Linked DNA regions of Homo sapiens: regions 2 and 3 are each linked to region 1. Evidence: promoter capture Hi-C in 16 types of primary human blood cells and fetal thymus (Javierre and others, 2016). All regions are on one chromosome and are shown on one strand. Each heading gives the region's core, a stretch centred on a gene start or on the middle of the fragment in contact. The rest is flanking DNA. Distances are from core to core; before and after follow the strand shown.

Region 1 (3,900 bases), core at 364-2,863:
AGAGAATCCAGACTCCCTAAGGGGACACTCAGCAATCTTTTCCCACATTATCACATGTCCACACATCACCAGTCCTTGAAGGCTGGGCTCAAATATCCTCCCTCCCATGAAGACTGCTTCACAAAAGACACTTGATTTCACAAAAGAGACTGCCTTCTTCTTCCCTCTGTACCCTCACAGCTCACCTTTTTTTTTTTTTTTTTTTTTTGAGACAGGTCATATTCTGTCACCCAGGCTGGAGTTCAGTGGCACAATCACAGCTCACTGCATCCTCTGCCTCCGGGACTCAGGTGATTCTCCCACCTCAGCCTTCCGAGTAGCTGGGACTATAGGTATGCGCCACCACGCTCAGCTAATTTTTGTATTTTTTGTAGAGCCGATCTTTCACCGTGTTGGCCCTGCTGGTCTCCGATTCCTGGCCTCAAGTGATCCACCTGCCTCAGCCTCCCAAAGTGCTAGGATGACAGGTGTAAGCCACCACGCCCAGCCCAGGCCTCTTACAACACTGACTTATCTGATCGTGCGGGTACTTTTGAGTCTATCTCAACCCCTCCCCCTTGGCTGTCTTCCATAGATGCACACGCGCACCTCCCGGGCAGGCAGCGGACGCTGAGCAAACGGACGGACGGGCTGGAGGGCTGGCAGTGGGGTGCAGGAGCCAGCCATGAGAACCCCTCAAGTACAGTTGAACTCGCTGGGAGGTTACTGCTGTACTCCCGGGGTTTTGCTATGGCCTGACTGGGGCCAATGTGTGGAGGGTGAAGGAGGATGGGGAGGCAAAATGGGAAGAAGGGGACCTATTTCCTGAGGTTGTTGTGACGACTTGGCTGACAACACACGGAGAGGATGGAACCAGTTCTGATACTAGTTTTTAGGATTTGAGGGGAGGAAAAAGGAGCAGGAGTCGCACCACTTAGGAATCCCAACGTGAGGCCGCTGCCGACTGGGCTTCCTAGTTGCCTACCCGCTCCTCGCTGTGGGGCGATTCTGAAAAGTCCTCTCTGCTGATACGGCGGACGCCGCGCGGGCGGGGACGGCACCGCGCGGGGAGGGCAGCAGGCGTCGCCCTCGAGCAGGTGGCATCCGCGCCCGCTCCCCGTCCCGGGCGCGTTCACGGCTGGGAAAAATTTTGCAGTCCGCTGAAGCGCTCAGCGACGTTACTGGGGAAGCCCAGGAAGGAACTTGGTCACTGGAGCTCGGGAGGGGGCCGGCGGGGGGGCGCAGGCCCCGCAGGAGAGGCTAGCGGGCCGGAGCCCGTCCTTCCCTAAGGCCACACAGTTCCTTGCTGACTCCATGAGGGACACTGGCGATGAAATAACAACTTTCTCTTCCTGAAAAGGCTCCCACGGCTGAGTTGTTCCCGGCCCACAGCGACCCGTCCCCACCCGTCTCTGATCGGCAACCGCCTCGAGCCCGGCGCGTCCACCCAGCCTGGGTGCTGCCCAGTACCCGCCGGCCGGCGCGGGGCCCCTGGGGCAGGCTTCACTCACCAAAGCAGTGCAGCAGGCAGACCACGCTGAGGACCCCCAGGGCCCGCCCCGCGTCGCTCCCAGCAACCATGGCTCGTCGGGCCGGCCTCTGCGCGAGTGCCCAGCCACAAGCAGCCCTAAGTTCAAGCACCGCCTACGCGGTCGGCCAGAAGTAGGGCTCCGCCCCGCCCTGGGCTGGCAGCCGGCGGCCCGCCCCGGCCCTTCCTCCCCCACCCTCCGCGGCGCCGCGTTTGTCTTCGCGCTTCCACTCCCCGGGCGCGCCTCTGGCCTCGGCTCTGCGCGCCTCCTTCCTGTGTCCCCGGGGCGCCGTCCAGTCCCCCAGCTCGGTCCCTCCCGTCATTCCGCCGCCATTCCATACGCTATTTTTAAGTAAGAAATTCTTTCCTTGAAAATGGCTTGGTTTTAAAAACCAAGGTTTTAAAGTAAGAAATTCTTTCCTTGAAAATGGCTTGGTTTTAAAAACCAGGTTTCTCTGCCTTCCTACCGCACCTCCCGCGCTTCCCCTTAGCGTTTGGGGCGTGCTGTAGGCCCCTCCGTGGCTAGACGGGGCTGTGGCTCCCAGAGAGCCACCGGAGGAGGCAGCAGGACGGGCGGGAGCACCCGGGGCCCCTCATCCCTTCAGCGCTGTGTGATCCCGCATCAGACGGCCTCTTTGAACCACTTTTCCTCAAACATGACAAGGAAAGGGAGCATTTTAGACAACTGTTAGGCGTAGGGTTACCTGAGGCAGGCCTCCCCCGTCCCCATACTCCCTTATCCCCGGAGCTGGGATTTCCAGCCTTTGGTTTCTCCCTTCTCAGATTCCTCTTTTTCTGTCTTCCCCCATCTCAACCGGGACTTTCCCTCAGGCTGAGATGTCAGATCCACATCTCCCTCACTGCCCAGCCTCCCCACATCCATCCAGCCCAAGCTGAGGCAGGCACTCATCACTCTCCCCGCTCTTCATCAGTCTGGATTGAGCTGGCCCTCCCCTCACATCCCTATATCCCAGAACAAATGACCCTATTCCCAGAACCAGCTCCTCACATCAGCCTCCCTGTCTGTCCCCTTTCTTGCAGACAGAAGCACCAGAGTTGCCCCTGCCCAGCTGAGGGAGTTCACAGAACTCTTAGTTATTATGTGAGCAGGAATCCATTTCCATGAACAGGACTCCCTGCTGCCCAAATAACCACCAACACATACATGGTGCAGGTTGTGAAACTGAGTGGGAATGTGCTTTCTTGCTGCTTCACCTCCATTATCCCCAGGTGGGGACTCGAAGTCACTCAAGACACTTGAACCATATTGCAAAGAGACATGAATTATTTCTTAAGTTAGCCATAAAATCTTAAAAGGTATCTCTATCAGTGAAACTTCTGGGACCAATGCCCTCTACCACAAACCTGCTATCTCGAGATATTCCCTACCATCTGTAGATACTGGGAACACAAGGCAGGGGCAGTGTGTAACATAAAATATGAGGAAATCAAGTGTTCTCTGCCCTGGGCTGGTAGGAACTCAGGCCAACTTAGAAAGGCAGGATGGGGTTAGACCTTCAGACACTGGGGAGCCACAGAAAGTTTTTGAGCTGGGAAGTGATATGACAGCAAACATCTATTGAGCAGGCCCTGTGTGAAGTGCATTGCTTGGATTAACTTAGTCTTACTGCTGCTGTTGTTTTTGCAAATGAGGAAACTGATGCCTGGGGAAGGTAAATTACTCAGGGCACACAGTAAAGGGCAGAACTTGGAGTCCAGCTGAGGCCATGTCCAATGCCTCTACTCTTATCCCTTCATACAGGAACGGGATATGATAATGGGACTTTTGGACTGACAGCTATGCAGCCATTTGGACTGCCAGCAAGAGCTGTTAAGCCCCTTAAGAGCAGGGCTGAGGAAAGAACAGCCCAGTCACATGGGGCTGGGGAAGCCCCTCACCCCCAGGTCATGGTCTCCAGGTATTGGGTGAGGAATAACTCATTAGGCTTCCTTGGTTGGACTCTCCTTTGACCAAGGAGCAGTGCCTGCTCTTTCATTGAGAGAAATGCTGTCCATCAAGCACTTTTAGAAGCCCTCAAATGCCTGGTTAATTTTATGAATCAAAAGCAGCTCAGGAATGCTGGACCTGCAATGCGTTAAGCAGGCAGCCAAAAAGATTCCCTTTACATACTGAGAACCTGCTATCAAAAGGAGGGGTGGATGTATTTTTCATGCTGTGACTAGTATTGCAAGGTCCAGTTTTATCTTCTTGTCACTGTAGATAATCATGGATGAGAAAGTAAGAAAAGAGGGCAGCTGAAGAGGCCGGGGCTGTTCTTCCTAGCATGCCACTCTCTGGTGTCTTGACTCTCGTTTCTGCCAAACCTTTGGAACTACTCCCACAAAGCTTAGGAATCCCAGAATGTAGTGAGCAAAACACTGCTCAATCCTGC
Region 2 (3,708 bases), core at 669-3,168, 520 kb after region 1:
TAATGAGTTCTGCTGTTTGTCCTTCCATTTGTAGGCATTTTTATTGAAAGATCAACTCTGCCTCTCTCATTGTCCCTCTATAGTGGGACCATTTATTGATTTCTTTGTTATGTCTACGCAGCCTCTCTACATATGACATCGTGATCACTACCTATAGCCTCGTGGCCAAGGAGATTCCCACAAACAAGCAAGAGGCAGAGATCCCAGGTGCAAACCTCAATGTGGAGGTGAGGCTGGGGGGCAGCCAGGGAAGTGGAGTTGGAGCCACAGATGGTTTAATGGGAGTCTTTCTCAGCCTCCACGATAGCAAGAGGACCTCCCTGGAGGTCAGGAATGCTGTAAATGATCCGCATGTGGAAAGGAATTGTTCTTTCCTCTATCCCATCACCCTTATTCCAGACAACCACCTCAGTGATAAAGATCAACCTATGCCACAGGATTCAGCTGCCTTTTAGAATGAAAGATGACTGCATTGTATTTGTGGGGGTAATAATCACCTGAATATATAAAAGCCTTACTTGTTGCTATTTTTATTTTAGAGTATTTGGGGTATATACTCATGATATTTTTAATATTTATTGTGCAGACTAGTATTTTACTACTAGTATTTTGATTTTAAGCCATCTTTCCCTGCCTCCCTTTACTTCCCAGAAAAAAAAAAAGGGTTGCAAATAATAAGGCCAGAGGCTAAGTGACAATTGTGAATACGTGATGGTCTTCTAGGGTGTCCAGGGCAGCCTCAGTTATGTGATGTAGAGGCTTTATCATGTAATTATACTCTGAAAATACAGTATTATCCCAAGAACTCATTTTTCTATATGTTATCCTTTTAGCCCAACGGGATATTCACAGGTTTCTGTATTTGGAGAGATCTCTAGAACATTTCTCCAGCTTATAACCAACTCTGACTTATAGATGATGAACTTTTCAGATTGCTCACTGGTTTTCCATTGCTTTTGGGATAAACCCTAAATTTCTTTTCATGATGTATTAGGCTTCATTTATTTATTTATTTGAGGCAGAATCTCACTCTGTCGCCCAGGATGGAGTGCATGGTGCGATCTTGGCTCACTGCAACCTCTGCATCCCGGGTTCAAGCGATTCTCCTGCCTCAGCTTCCCAAGTAGCTGGGATAACAGGTGCCCGCCACTATGCTCGGCTAATTTTTTGTATTTTTAGTAGAGATGGGGTTTCGCCATGTTGGCCAGGCTGGTCTCGAATTCCTGACCTCAAGTGATCCACCCGCCTCGGCCTCCCAAAGTGCTGGGATTATAGGCATGAGCCACCATGCCTGGCCATATTAGGCTCTTTATGATCTTGCCCTACCTGTATGTCGCTCATCTCTTGATGACACCCTGCCCCTCCCTGGGGCACCTCTTGCTCAGTCATACCAAGGGATCTGTAGTTCCCACCATGCTCTGTCACAGTGTTGTGTCTGTTCTCCCTCCGAATGAAACGCTTTGCCTCCACTCCTTCTCCCAGGTTAATTTTTTTAAACCTGCTTCAAGAATCTTTTCTGGACCACTCCCTTCCCACCTTCCCCCGGTTTGGTTGAATGCCTCTGCCAGCACCTTGTGCTTACATAAGTTATAGCACTTTGTTTCTTCAGCAGACGTTGAGTATCCACTATGGGTCAGGTGCTGTTTCGTCAAGAGCAGCCAGATTCCCACTTCAGGTATTGAACTAGCCAGTGGGACTTACTATATCTATATCGTATTGTAATTATCTTTACACTTGTTTTTCTCCCCTGCTAGATTTTGAGCTCTTGCAGGTAGGAACTGTTTTTTATATCTGGTTTAGCATCTCACATCTAAAAGTAGACTTTTGGAAAATTGTTAGTAAATTTAGTAAAATTTAGTAAATGTTTTATTGAGTGAGTGAATTTGCAGGTTCAATGCCTGGTGTAGTCATGGTCTACAGCCATTGCTTAAGTGTGTATTTAAAGAATAAAAGAAAAGTCGGCTGGGCGCGGTGGCTCATGCCTGTAATCCCAGCACTTTGGAAGGCCGAGGCGGGTGGATCACGAGGTCAGGAGATCGAGACCATCCTGGCTAACACGATGAAACCCCGACTCTACTAAAAATACAAAAAATTAGCCGGGTGTGGTGGCGGGCGCCTGTGGTCCCGGCTGCTCGGGAGGCTGAGGCAGGAGAATGGCGTGAAGCCCGGAGGCGGAGCTTGCAGTGAGCCGAGATCTCGCCACTGCACTCCAGCCTGGGCGACGGAGCGAGACTCCCATCTCAAAAAAAAAAAGGAAACCCAAATTTGAAAACATTTTACTCTTAGACATCTTATGTTCAAAGACTGAGACTCTCAAATAACTTATTTGAACCAGTTGAGACGTTTTACTCTTGGGTTTCTTAATTCTTATTTCAGTGTACCTGAGCTAAGCAAATTTAAAGGTAAATGTGGGTCCTCCATGCTTGCCTGCTATTTCCCCTTGTGTCCTTAAGGACATGTACATTTTCCCATATTGTGGCTGGATTTCACTTGTGATTCTTCCAGGGCACCTCAACACCTTTGCTTCGAATAGCCTGGGCTCGAATCATATTGGATGAAGCTCACAATGTTAAGAATCCCCGAGTGCAGACTTCCATAGCTGTGTGTAAGCTACAAGCCTGTGCCCGTTGGGCTGTCACTGGAACCCCCATTCAAAACAACTTATTGGATATGTATTCGCTGCTGAAGTGAGTAACTTCTCGTGATTGTGTAAATATGAACCCTGTCTGTATCCCTTCATCATTATTTCATGTCTCATAATAAAGCCTTAGTATGTGCCAGATTATCTTGTTTAGGAGATGGCAGGCCTGTCAACCTTTAAAGGACAAAAGAATAAATATTTATGAGAAAATAGCTGTTGATTGGTTGATATAGGACTTTGATTACATTCAGCCCTTATATATATATGCAAAAATATAGGACTTTATATATGCAAAATATATGCAAAATATATGCAAATATATGCTATATATATATATATATGCAAAAATTATTCTTAAGTCCAGTGAATGTTTTCGGCTACTTCTGCTTTAAAACATATGGTCTAGGGCTAGCACTACAATTTATTTGAAGCAAACAAAAAAGAATGTTGATTTTAAAATATTTCCATTTGGCTGAGTGCAGTGGGTCATACCTGTAATCTCCACACTTTGGAAGGCTGATGTGGGAGGATTGCTTGAAGCCAGGAGTTCAAGATTAGCCAGGGGAGTAAAATGAGACCCCACCTCTACAAAAAATTAAAAAATTAGCCAGGCACAGGGGTGTACACCTGTGGTCCCAGCTGCTCGAGAGGCTGAGGCAGGAGGATCGCTTGAGCCCAGGAGTTCAAGGCTGCAGTGAGCTATGATTATGCCACTGCACTCCAGCCTGGGTGACAGAGCAAGACCTCAGTCTCTAAAGAAAAAAATTAAAAATAAAATACTTATTTTTATTCGAGTCAGCCATAAGAGGATGTGAAATTTCTTTCTTAGCTCCTGTAGCTTTAGGAACAAATTCTAGCTGTTGGTTATATGTCTTGTTGTGACAGCGTAGGCATCGTTAATAGGAAAACTCACATTTTTATAATGTGGTTTTGTTATTGACTTACATCCTTTTGATCTGTCCAGCAAAGGTTTGCTATGAAATTCACTTTTAAAAGTGATTGGATGACAGGTGTAACAGAAAATCTGATTTGTCATCTTATATCTTACTTTGAACCTTTATTCCATT
Region 3 (3,894 bases), core at 414-2,913, 530 kb after region 1:
ACTGTGGAGAGAAGCGATTGATGTAAGTCACTTCTAGGTGGCCCTCTACCACTTTCCAAAAGATCATTCATGCTGTTTCTTCCCTCCTCAGCCTATGGGATGCAAAGGAACTGATGGAAGATTACAAGGCCCTAGGGAAGGTGAAGCCACTAGCTCAGCAGTTCTTAGCCTAGTTTTTGGCCATCAGCCCTTCTATTAGACTAGTGAAGCCTCAGTCCCAGGATGGCTCCCCATGTACACTTCCCTCCTCGCCCCAGCTCACCTACACTGGACTATGACATGATCAAGGAATCTTTTTTTTTAAGCTACTGAGATTTCTGTGTTGTTTACATAGCAGTTTGTACCCTAAACAAACACTTGAGATTTTATACTTCAGGAAACTATTCAGATTTCCTTCTCATTAGCAATTGTTCCAAAAACACTTACTCTGCTAATTTCTGCTAGAAAGAATCACAGTTCTTCTAACACAGAAACATTTCTGTCCCTTGAGTTGGGAAACAAGACCCTATGTTAACCCAGTCAGAGTGTGGACTGAGGCATTCGGAGCCTATTTAAGCAGAAGTTTTCTATAAGGACAAGATTTAAAGGCTTACAAAGGTAAAGACAATGGCCTGGTGGGAAGAATTCTAGTCTAGAACGTTTGAGATTTGACTCTAGTTCTAGGTTCATCTTAGCTGGGTGTGTAACGTTGAAAAAATTGGCCGGGTGCAGTGGCTCAGGCCTGTCATCCCAGCACTTTGGGAGGCCGAGGCAGACGGATCACGAGGTCAAGAGATCAAGACCATCTTGGCCAACATGGTGAAACCCCGTCTCTACTAAAAATACAAAAATTAGCTGAGCGTGGTGGCGTGCGCCTGTAGTCCCAGCTACTGGGGAGGATAAGGCAGGAGAATCGCTTGAACCTGGGAGGTGGAGGTTGCAGTGAGCTGAGATCGCGCCATTGCACTCCAGCCTGGTGACAGAGCGAGACTCCGTCTCAAAAAAAAAAAAAAAAAAAAAGAGAGAGAAAAAAATCCTTACTTTCTCTACACTCTGATTTCCTCATTTGTAAGGTGGGCAGTTTTCAGAACTTAGCAGCAATAAGGTTTCTGATAAAATCAAGAAGCAAAGGAAGTAACATTGCCTTTTTGAAGTTTTGCTATAAGATTGACATACCAAGGTAAAGATTGAGTCACCTGAGAAGCAGTGGCTCCCAGGCCAGCAAGAATGTACAAACCTGGCTCTGCCATTTGCTGATTGATATTAGGCAAGTTGCAGATTCCTTGGACATCTCAATCCTTTCATCTGTAAAATGTGTGGATTAGCATGTATCTCATGCTCCACTGGGAATTTCATAGCAAATATATATACTACAACATGGTTGACCAGATAGATCAGTAATGTCAACTAGAAGGTATTAGATGAACATTGTCAGTCTCCAATCAAGCATTGTTTAGGGGAGAGGAATTCTTTCAGGTTCAAGCATTCTGGCTTTTAGTTTGGAGAGGGATGCAGGGATTGTAACTTAAAATCTTCAGATATTGAGGCCATTGACAAGTAATCTACTGTAAGGTAGATGCCTCCTGGTATTTTAAAACAGCTTTTCTAATTTCTCATGTTATTGTACATAAGCAAAGCAACCTAGTTATGTCTTGGGTAGGTGTTCTTATAGCCGTGAGATGCTACTGACTTGAGGTGGATGCAGAAAAAAATGGAACCACTGCCTTAATGGGATGGAATATACTAAACATGCATTCTTAAATCCTAGTGCTGGGATGGATTACATGAATTACATTGTGGAGCTGCATATGTGTCTCCCCTCTTCCCTCCCTGGGGGTTAGGCTGGGTTTGTTTGGTTTTTTTTGTTTTGTCCTCATGAGGCTTAGCATCTAAGGGAGACAGGCATGAATTAACAGAAGTGGCATTCTGGTATCTGTCTCAGCCTCATATTCATTTTAGTGTAAATCAGTTTCGTCAAGTCTAGGTATGACAAGGTGGGTCTTTGCACCTTCTAGCGATGGGCAGCATCCCACAACACAGTGGTCTAATTGAGGTGCTGCACTATGAGTCCTGCCTGTGTTAACCAGCCTTCCTTCATGTCACAATACTGCTGCTGGATTTGCTTTTTACATCTGCCTATTGCACCTGACTTGGGCATGGATGATATGAGGTAATAAATGCTTTGAAAACCATGAAGGGCCACACAAGTGCTAGTGTTATTGCTGTGGGACAAGGTCTGGGAATATGAGAACCAGCAGCAGCATGGGTGCAGCTGAGAACCAGATGGTGAACATCTGTCTCCAAAGTGCAACATTCCTGAGCACCGGATTTATAAGGCATTTCTTACTCGACAGAATTGACTTCATGGAAGGTATGTAGTTTGACTTTGCCTTAGCCATGTTGATCAAATAGGAGTATTGTGCATGCCGCAGCTAGACAGAGTCCTGGGCCCTTTAAAAACCTTGTCAGTGACTCCCATTGCAGGCCCAGCGCAGTGGTTCACACCTGTAATCCCAGCATTTGGGAGGCTGAGGCAGGCAGATCACTTGAGGCCAAGAGTTCGAGACCAGACTGGCCAACATGGCAAAACCTCCTCTCTACTAAAAATACAAAAGTTAGCCAGGCGTGATGTTGGGTGCCTGTAATTGCAGCTACTCGGGAGGCTGAGGCAGGAGAATCACTTGAATCCAGGAGGCGGAGGTTACAGTGAGCTGAGATCATACCACTGCACTCCAGCCTGGGCCACAGAGAAAGAACGGTGATTCTTTCTAGCAGAAATTAGCAGAGTAAGTGTTTTTGGAACAATTGCTAATGAAAAGAAGGAAAAACAGAAAAAAAAAATTTTCTGTTTATGGGAGGTGACTTATTTCTCTATCAATCCTGTGAGTGATTTAGCATGGCAATTCATGAACACTGAGTTGTTTCCTTGCTCTGATTGTCTGTTGCTCAATGAAATGGCTTTTAGCAGGGCTCAAAGGTGAAGCCAGATTCTCCTGCACTAATAGGATAAGCATGGAGACACCAGTGTTCAGTGTGGCCTCTGGTTGTCTGAAATTTTGCTGTCAACTCTAATACCTTGAAAGAATTAGGTTTCCAAAGTGGGATATTGTGCTGCTGTTTGTGATATAGCATCTAGACTTAGGAAAGGGCAGGAACAATTTAAAAGCACATCTGTAGGCACAAAGAGAATTATAATAGAAATTCAGAATTCCTAGGCATATGACCTAGACTAAAATGTCTTCATAACTACAAATGAAATCAGGGTCATTTATAGTACAAACTACCACAGAAGTCAGTAGTTAGGGGATGGAGATAGATATGAAAAAAAAAAAAAGCAAACCCAGCCTAACTCCCAGGGAGGGAAGAGGGGCGACAGATATGCAGCTACACAATGTTTTTACTATCTTGAGTTCTTTTTACCCAGATTCCATAGCTAAATCCAGATGTATTAATAGGTAGAGACTACTTCAGAAAGGATGAGACTATTTTCTTGCTTAATTATCCACACAGTAATTCAGAAATGTATATTGAACACTTTTTATATGCCAGGCACTGCTGGGCACTGGAAATATAAAAGTAAGCAAAAATGAAAAACTATCCTGTCCTCCTGAGGCTTAGCATCTAAGGGAGACAGGCATTAGTCAACCCCGTGTGGCTGTGAATCAGCCATGATGCTGAGTGCTACAAGAGAGGACTGTGCGGCTGGGAGGGCTTATAACAGGATTTGACCTAGTTAGGGAAGATCTGAGGAAGTGATGAAAGAATGGAAATCAATATGTAAGAGCTCACAAGTCAGAGTGAGATGTTTCTTCCTATACTGCCTGCTTCTAATGAGCATCCACTTCATTGAACCACCTCTTCATTGAGCCAAACCTACCATACAGGGATACATTCTCTGGAGGAAAGTTGAGCAAC

Evidence for each region. Contacts are between HindIII fragments. The CHiCAGO score rates a contact against its expected background, and 5 or more counts as called.
Region 2: a fragment that was not itself captured here is called in contact with the fragment with the promoter of CD58 in region 1 in 1 of 17 cell types (activated CD4 T cells); the score reaches 5.8 in activated CD4 T cells.
Region 3: a contact is called between a fragment that was not itself captured here and the fragment with the promoter of CD58 in region 1, in 1 of 17 cell types (non-activated CD4 T cells). The highest score is 5.6, in non-activated CD4 T cells.

Annotation. Positions count from the first base shown.
Region 1 is chr1:116,569,413-116,573,312 of GRCh38, forward strand. CD58 (CD58 molecule) reads right to left here and starts at 1,614. Exons shown (of 6, transcript NM_001779.3): 1 at 1,491-1,614. The coding sequence starts at 1,560. It overlaps LOC124904385 (a long non-coding RNA gene), which reads left to right and starts at 1,563. Exons shown (of 2, transcript XR_007066497.1): 1 at 1,563-1,641. RefSeq lists an enhancer at 686-745 and silencers at 1,216-1,285, 1,356-1,815. The HindIII fragment of the contact is 6,609 bases long and covers 1-3,852 here.
Region 2 is chr1:117,086,296-117,090,003 of GRCh38, forward strand. It overlaps TTF2 (transcription termination factor 2), which reads left to right. Exons shown (of 23, transcript NM_003594.4): 12 at 122-227; 13 at 2,506-2,687. Among named protein-coding and RNA genes, the nearest start is that of MIR942, 6.5 kb to the right of the region's middle. The HindIII fragment of the contact is 4,715 bases long and covers 1-3,708 here.
Region 3 is chr1:117,102,974-117,106,867 of GRCh38, forward strand. It overlaps TTF2 (transcription termination factor 2), which reads left to right. Exons shown (of 23, transcript NM_003594.4): 23 at 1-3,894. Among named protein-coding and RNA genes, the nearest start is that of MIR942, 10 kb to the left of the region's middle. The HindIII fragment of the contact is 5,602 bases long and covers 1-3,894 here.